Linked DNA regions of Homo sapiens: all the other regions are linked to region 3. Evidence: promoter capture Hi-C in human tissues and cell types (Jung and others, 2019). All regions are on one chromosome and are shown on one strand. The core of a region is centred on a gene start or on the middle of the fragment in contact, and the rest is flanking DNA. Distances in the headings are between cores, read along the strand shown. Region 1 holds the start of IL12RB1 (interleukin 12 receptor subunit beta 1). Region 2 holds the start of PLVAP (plasmalemma vesicle associated protein). Region 3 holds the start of FCHO1 (FCH and mu domain containing endocytic adaptor 1).

Region 1 (2,700 bases), core at 54-2,553, 340 kb before region 3:
TTTTTGTATTTTCAGTAGAGACAGGGTTTCACCATTTTGGTCAGGCTGGTCTCAAACTCCTGACCTCGTGATCCACCTGCCTTGGCCTCCCAAAGTACTGGGATTACAGGCGTGAGCCACCGCGCCTGGCCTAATTCTTTATTTTTTATAGAGATGGGGTCTTGCTATGTTGTTTAGGTAGACCCAAACTCCTGGGGTCAAGTGATCCTCCCACCTCGACCTCTCAAAGTGCTGGGATTAGAGGGGTGAGCCCAGGTGCACAAGGCTGGAGCTTGGCATGTGGGGAGGTGGGCATTGTGGAGGGCCAGCATGCTGCAAGCTCTTTGTAACAATTTGTTGGAAGGATGAAATTAGGCCATCCAAGAACACTGCCCTCCTTCAGCTCTTGAGTCTCAGATTCAGAAGCTGGCGAGATGGCCCGGTGCGGTGGCTCACGCCTGTGATCCCAGAATTTTGGTAGGCCAAGGCGGACGGATCATTTGAACCCGGGAGTTTGAGACCAGCCTGGGCAACATGGCAAAACCCCCTCTCTTAAAAAAAAAAAAATGCAAAAATTAGCTGGGCGTGGTGGTGCATGCCTGTAGTCCCAGTTCCTGGGGAGGCTGAGGTAGGAGGATGGCCTGAGCCTGGGGAGGTTGATGTTGCAGTGAGCCGTGATTGCACCACTGCACTACAGCTGGGCCACAGATCAAGACCCTATCTCAAAAGAAGAAAAAAAGAATTTGGCAGCCAGGCACGGTAGCTCACGCCTGTCATCCCAGCACTTTGGGAGGCTGAGGTGGGTGGATCACTTAGGGTTAGGAGTTCGAGACCAGCCTGGCCAGCATGGTGAAACCCTGTCTCTACTAAAAATACAAAAATTAGCTCGATGTTGTGGCAGTTGCCTGTAATTCCAGCTACTCGGGAGGCTGAGGCAGGAGAATTGCTTGAACCCGGGAGGCAGAAGTTGCAGTGAGTGGAGATCATGCCACCACACTCCAGCCCGGGCGACAGAGCAGGGCTCCATCTCAAAAAAAAAAAAAAAAATTGGCTAGAGAGGGCCAGAGACCTGGCCAAGTGCATGGAACCACAGGTGGCCCATGGGCCCATGGGGCTGGCATCTGGGTGTTCAGTTCAGGTCTGGGGCCAGCAGGGCAGAACCCCCTAGAACCCTGACTTGCTCCAAAGTCAGACTTGCTCCAGAGTCTGTGGCCGCCACCATCACCACCACCACGGAGCTGACTTCCTGGGTTTCTCTTTCACTTTGACTTGCCTTAGGGATGGGCTGTGACACTTTACTTTTTTTCTTTTTTCTTTTTTTTCAGTCTTTTCTCCTTGCTCAGCTTCAATGTGTTCCGGAGTGGGGACGGGGTGGCTGAACCTCGCAGGTGGCAGAGAGGCTCCCCTGGGGCTGTGGGGCTCTACGTGGATCCGATGGAGCCGCTGGTGACCTGGGTGGTCCCCCTCCTCTTCCTCTTCCTGCTGTCCAGGCAGGGCGGTGAGTCCCCTGACCCTGGCATGGCGGCTCCTCTTGCTGGGTGGAGGCACGTGTATGTGTGGAGAGCTGTGGGCCTGCTGTGTGGGTTGGTTTCATCTCTCTGTGCCTCAGTCTTTCCTGCTGTCAAATGGGAGATGGGCAGTCATGGCTTCTGGGATCGAACTTAGACATCTTTCCTCTGGTCTAGATTTTCTCTTCTGTGAAATGCACTAAATTTTTTCCACCTCCCGGAGTTCAATGAGAAAAAAAACTAAGGAAGGAATAAAAAGCAAGTATGTATCTAATAGGTATACATAGTATAGTATCTTATGTATGTAGTTTACAATAGATAGACATACATAATATAATGTATACAGTCATTTCCATATTTACGGGGCAATGGTTCCAGGACCCTCTGCAGATACCAAAATCCAAAGATGCTCAAGTTCCTGATATAAAATGGTAAAGTATTTGCATATAACCTATGCACATCCTTCCGTATACTTTACTTATTTATTTATTTATTTATTTATTTATTTATTTATTTATTTATTTACTGAGGTAGGGTCTCACTCTGTGTCCCAGGCTGGAGTGCAGTGGCCTAATCATAACTCATTGCAGCCTTGACCACCTGGGCTCAAGTGATCCTCCTGCCTTAGCCCCTTGAGTAGCTGGGACTGCAGGTGCACACTACCATGCCTGGTTAATTTTTTTGGTGTATACTTTTTACAGAGACAGCGTCTCGCTGTGTTGCCCAGGCTGGTCTCGAACTCCTGGGCTCAAATGATCCACTCACCTTGGCCTCCCAAAGTGCTCAGATTACAGGCATGAGCCACCATGCCCAGCCTTCCCATATACTTTTAATAATCTCAGGCCCTGCACGGTGACTCACTCCTGAAAATCCAGCACTATGGGAGGCCAAGATGGGTGGATCACTTGAGGTCAGGAGTTCGAGACCAGCCTGGCTAACATGGTGAAACCCCATCTCTACTAAAAATGCAAAAATTAGCCAGGCTTGATGATGGGCACCTGTACTCCCAGCTACTTAGGAGCTGAGGTGGGAGGATCGCTTGAACCCAGGAGGCAGAGGTTGCAGTGAGCCGAGATTGCAGCACTGCATTCCAGCCTGTGTGGCAGAGCAAGACTCTATCTCAATAATAATAATAATAAATAAACTTTCCTTCTCTGTACACTGGGGATCAGCGGGGTGCTGACTTTTTCAATGGCTCTTGAGATGCACTGAG
Region 2 (2,700 bases), core at 135-2,634, 370 kb after region 3:
CCACCACACACGGCTAATTTTTGTATTTTTAGTGGAGATGGGGTTTCACCATATTGGCCAGGCTGGTCTCGCACTCCTGACCTCAGGTGATCCGCCTGCCTCAGCCTCACAAAGTGCTGAGATTACAGGTGTGAGCCACTATGCCCGGCCGCCCATGGGGTTTTGAGTGTCGGGGGAGGAATCTCAGTCCCACGTATCCACCACTTGTCATTCACCATCTCACGGAGCCCCCAGCAGTGCCTCCAGCAGGAAATGATCCTAATCATAACAACAGCCACAGAGTGACGAGGCACTGGGTATACCCCGTCTCACAAAGGGGAAAAGGGAGGCACAGACATGCGAGGCCTCTTGCCCGAGCTCTCCCGGGACAAAGCCAGCTCTTCCCCGCTCCAAGTTCATTATTCCTTGTGCTGCAGTTTCCTGGAGCATTTACTGAGCATCTAAGTGAACAGGGCACTGGGGGCAATGACAGAGCTTGGGGAGCCAGCGCCACCGCCATCCATGGCTCAGCCCTCCGTGACGCCCTCCTATGCAATTACTAATCACCTACTGCTTCTCCATCCCTAGGCTAGCTAAGAGTTTCACACTTTTTCTGTTTTTTTTTTTTTTTGAAACAGAGTCTTGCTCTATACCCCAGGCTGGAGTGCAATGGCACGATCTCTGCTCACCGCAACCTCCGACTCCTGGGTTCAAGCGATTCTCCTGCCTCAGCCTCCTGGGTAGCTGGAATTACAGGCGAGCACCACCACACCTGGCTAAGTTTTGTATTTTTAGTAGAGACGGGGGGTTTCACCACGGTGACCGGGTTGGTCTCAAACTTCTGACCTCAGGTGATCCGTCCGCCTCAGCCTCCCAAAGTGCTGGGATTATAGGCGTGAGCCACCGTGCCTGGCACATTTCCCACGTTTTGTGGCACTTAATCAGCACCGCCCTGGTGAAGTGGGTGCACGTCTGTAGCCAGCCTGTCTTGAGGTAAGTCAAGTTCGCTGAACTAACAGCGTGAGACCCCGAGGCAACCCCTTCTCCTCCCTGTGCCTCAGTTTCCTCCGCCACACAAGGGAGACAGCAACAGACCTGGCATGATTCAGCGACCTAATCACAGCAGGTACTGAGAACAGCACCCGCCAGCAAGTAAAGGCGAACGCGAGGCTCGAAGAGGCCAGGAATGCCTGACCAGCCAGCCAGCGCCCCACCCAGCATTAATCAGAGGGGTCCAGCCGGTGCCCTGGCTCTGGGCCCCCAGCCCCACCCCCGCCTTCTCACAGCCAGAGTGGGAGTGTTGTGATAACCCGCAGCCCCCGTTTCCTCCGGGCCAGGAAGGAGCCAGGCAGAGGAAGTATTAAGAGGAGTAATATAAGCACTCCCCCCTGCGAGGCGGGGGCCAGAGCAGGCCTGGTGGTGAGCAGGGACGGTGCACCGGACGGCGGGATCGAGCAAATGGGTCTGGCCATGGAGCACGGAGGGTCCTACGCTCGGGCGGGGGGCAGCTCTCGGGGCTGCTGGTATTACCTGCGCTACTTCTTCCTCTTCGTCTCCCTCATCCAATTCCTCATCATCCTGGGGCTCGTGCTCTTCATGGTCTATGGCAACGTGCACGTGAGCACAGAGTCCAACCTGCAGGCCACCGAGCGCCGAGCCGAGGGCCTATACAGTCAGCTCCTAGGGCTCACGGCCTCCCAGTCCAACTTGACCAAGGAGCTCAACTTCACCACCCGCGCCAAGGATGCCATCATGCAGATGTGGCTGAATGCTCGCCGCGACCTGGACCGCATCAATGCCAGCTTCCGCCAGTGCCAGGGTGACCGGGTAAGGCTGTGGGCAGGACACTCGCCCTGGGGACCCTGAGCAAGCCCCCTCACCTCTCTGAGCCTGAGTTTCCTCATCCAAGAGAGGGGGACGATCACAGGACCAATGCTCTCTTTTCTTATGAGACAGAGTCTCGCTCCGTCTCCCAGGCTGGAGTGCAGTGGTGCAATCTCGGCTCACTGCAACCTCTGCCTCCTGGGTTGGAGTGATTCTCCTGCCTCAGCCTCCCGAGTAGCTGGGATTACAGGCATGTGCCATCATAACCGGCTCATTTTTGTATTTTTAGTAGAGATGGGGTTTCACCATGTTGGCCAGGCTGGTCTCAAACTCCTGACCTCAAGTGATACGCCTGCCTTGGCCTCCCAAATTGTTGGGATTACAAGCGTGAGCCACTGCACCCGGCCGATAGATTTTTTTTTTTTCCTTAAGAGACAGGGTCTCCATGTGTATCCTGGGCTGGATGGAGTGCAATTGCTATCACAGCTCACTGCAACCTCAATCTCCTGGACTCAAGTGATCCTCTTGCCTCAGCCTCCTGAGTAGCTGGGACTACAGGCGTGCACCACCACACCCAGCTAATATGTTTATATTTAGCAGAGATGAGGTCTCACTATGTTGCCCAGGCTAGTCTCGAACTCCTGGGCTCAAGCAATCCTCTCACCCCAGCCTCCCAAACTGCTGGGATTACAGGTGTGGGGCACTGCGTCCAGCTAAATTTTTTTTATTTCTTTTCTTTTTTTTGGAGGCAGGGTCTCACTCTGTCACCCAGGCTGGAGCACAGTGATGTGAGCATAGCTCACTGAAGCCTTGACATCCTGGGCTCCAGCAATCCTCCTGCCTCAGCCTTTTGAGTAGCTGGCACTATGGACATGCCACTATGCCCAGGTCATTTTT
Region 3 (2,700 bases), core at 1-2,500:
GGTCTCACTAGTGTGGCCCAGGCCAGTCTCGAACTCCTGAGCTCAAGCCATCCTCCTGCCTGGGACCCCCAAAGTGCTGGGATTACAGCCATGAGCCACAACCCCTGGCCTTAATTTTTGTATTAATTTTTGTATTAATGTTAAACCAAGTAAAATTAAATACAATTGGCTGGGCGCAGTGGCTCACGCCTGTAATCCCAGCACTTTGGGAGGCCGAGGTGGGTGGATCACTTGAGGTCAGGAGTTCGAGACCTGCCTGGCCAACATGGTGAAACCCCATCTCTACCAAAAAATATAAAAATCAGCAGGGCGTGGTGGCACACACCTGTAGTCCCAGCTACTTGGGAGGATGAGGCAGGAGAATCACTTGAACCTGGGAGGCGGAGGTTGTAGTGAGCCAAGATTGCCCCACTGCACTCCAACCTGGTTGAAAGAGTGAGATTCTGTCTTAAAAAAATAATAATTAAATACATACATACATACATACATACATACATACAATTATATGCCCAGCTCCTCAGCTGTGCCAGCCTCTCTTCCAAGGCTCAGTAGCTACATGGGGCTGATGGCTGCTGTATTGGATGGCCAACATTGTTCTAGAAGATCCCAGGAACCAAGGAGCCCAAGTTCCCCAGAAACCAAGAATCTCACTACTGTTTTCACAGTTTCAATTAGATTGCCTCACCCCACCTCTGGCAGACAGATACACATGGAGCACCAGTATGTGTGCGACCCTGTACCCAACTATTCACACGCATCTGCTCATCCAATCTTCATGCCATGCCCTCAGAGGCAACCCCAACTTTATGAAGGAAACCGAGGCACAGAGAGATCAATCATTGGTCCCGGCTGACTGTGATTTTGCCCCTGGTCTGTCTGCCAATGACCTCCTGTTTGAAACCATCACGCGTGGCTCTCTGGGTTTCCAAGCTCCCCTTGCCGCCCCCCTAACCCAAACCACCACTCACAGCTGGAATGGGGGACGGGGGGCAGGGCAACGGGTGGCCCCATGCAGGCTTTGGCCAGCCCAGGAAGTGACACCTGCTACTTCTCCTGAAACCCAGGCTCCGGGCAGGGGGGCCTCCCCTCTGTTCCTGAGGGGGGCCAAGGCGAGATGATGGGTATCTACTGGCCAGGGCTCAAACTCACCGGACAGGGTAGCGAGTGGGATGGGGCCCCTGTCTGACGGGGCAGGCGCCAGGAGACAGCCACGAGGCCACTTCCGTCAGCACCAAGTTGGAGGCTTGTGTGCATGGGTTGGGGGGGGGACAGGAAGCTCACCCCGCCCCGCCTACCATCCAACCGCCACCTTTCCTCCCCCGCCCGATCAGCACCCATGGGACCTCCCTGGAACCACACAGGCCATGGGTGAGTAAACAAGAGGCGCTTGAACCTGGAGCCCCCCGGCCTGAACCTGGAGCTGTTCTTACCGAACAAATATTAATCATGGCAATTGGGAAATAACTGAGCACCAACCCTGGCCCAGGCATTCAACATCTTGCCATCCTGAGGTAGGCCGATACCCACTTCACAGACTGGGCAAACTGAGGCTCAGAGAGGGAAATGCGCTCAGAAAGGGGAAGACATGGCCAGGCGCGGTGGCTCACGCCTGTAATCCCAGCACTTTGAGAGGCCAAGGTGGGTGGATCACGAGGTCAAGAGGTTGACACTATCCTGGCCAACACGGTGAAACCCCGTCTCTACTAAAAATACAAAAATTAGCTGGGCGTGGTGGCCCATGCCTGTAGTCCCAGCTACTCAGGAGGCTGAGGCAGGAGAATCACTTGAACCCGGGAGGTGGAGGTTGCAGTGAGCCAGAGGTTGCAGTGAGCCGAGATTGCGCCACTGCACTCCAGCCTGGCGACAGAGCGAGACTCCATCTCAAAAAAAAAAAAAAAAGAAAAGAAAGGGGAAGACATTTTTGCATTCATGAGCGCTTTCCTTCACTACAAAAGAAATTTAAAATTATATTTTAGGTGGTGGCTGATGCCTGGAATCCCAGCACTTTGGGAGGCCGAGGCAGGTGGATTGCTTGAGCCCAGGAGTGCGAGAACAGCCTGGGCAACATGGTAAAACCCCGTCTCTACTAAAAATACAAAAGTTAGCTGGGTGGGGTGGCATATGCCTGTAATCCCAGCTACTCGGGAGGCTGAGGCAGGAGAATCGCTTGAACCCAGGAGATGGAGGTTGCAGTGAGCGGAGATCGAGCCACTGCACTCCAGCCTGGGTGACAGAGAGAGACTCTGTCTCAAAAACAAAACAAAACAAAACTGTATTTTACAACTACATTGACATAAAGACAAATATATTAATATTATACACAAAAATGTTTCCTTCAACCCAAGAGTTCATTTTTTTCCCTTTGGATTTTAAAAGAAGTGAAAACATCAACCTAGGGACCCCTAAAAGCACTGTGAGCCTGAGACACTGGGCATTTTGGGTCTGATGGAGAAGTCAGCCCTGCTAGAACCCAAGTCTCCCAGCCTGTACAGTACCAGCACAAAGCCCAGAGATGGCCGGAGACTTGCCCAAGGTTACACAGCACATTGCCAGCTGACTCAGAGGTCCCCATCCTGCCTTCCCGGCACCAAGTCTTGCAAACCTGGGGCTGAGACATGTGAGCAGCCCCAGAACAGATAAAACAAAGCAGGAACCACATCAGCAACAAAGGCAAGACCCGAGCTCCCATCCTGGGAATCG

What was found. Contacts are between HindIII fragments. The study calls those that stand out against the background at their distance.
Region 1: the fragment with the promoter of IL12RB1 here is called in contact with the fragment with the promoter of FCHO1 in region 3 in 1 of the 25 tissues and cell types used here (H1 embryonic stem cells).
Region 2: a contact is called between the fragment with the promoter of PLVAP here and the fragment with the promoter of FCHO1 in region 3, in 2 of the 25 tissues and cell types used here (spleen and stomach).

Annotation. Positions count from the first base shown.
Region 1 is chr19:18,085,537-18,088,236 of GRCh38, reverse strand. IL12RB1 (interleukin 12 receptor subunit beta 1) reads left to right here and starts at 1,303. Exons shown (of 17, transcript NM_005535.3): 1 at 1,303-1,477. The coding sequence starts at 1,414. RefSeq lists enhancers at 972-1,031, 1,042-1,391. The HindIII fragment of the contact is 62,137 bases long and covers 1-2,700 here.
Region 2 is chr19:17,376,026-17,378,725 of GRCh38, reverse strand. It overlaps PLVAP (plasmalemma vesicle associated protein), which reads left to right and starts at 1,384. Exons shown (of 6, transcript NM_031310.3): 1 at 1,384-1,806. The coding sequence starts at 1,438. The HindIII fragment of the contact is 34,336 bases long and covers 1-2,700 here.
Region 3 is chr19:17,750,027-17,752,726 of GRCh38, reverse strand. It overlaps FCHO1 (FCH and mu domain containing endocytic adaptor 1), which reads right to left and starts at 1,250. Exons shown (of 29, transcript NM_015122.3): 1 at 1,150-1,250. FCHO1-AS1 (FCHO1 antisense RNA 1) reads left to right here and starts at 1,330. Exons shown (of 5, transcript XR_007067152.1): 1 at 1,330-1,511; 2 at 1,977-2,069. The HindIII fragment of the contact is 16,973 bases long and covers 1-2,700 here.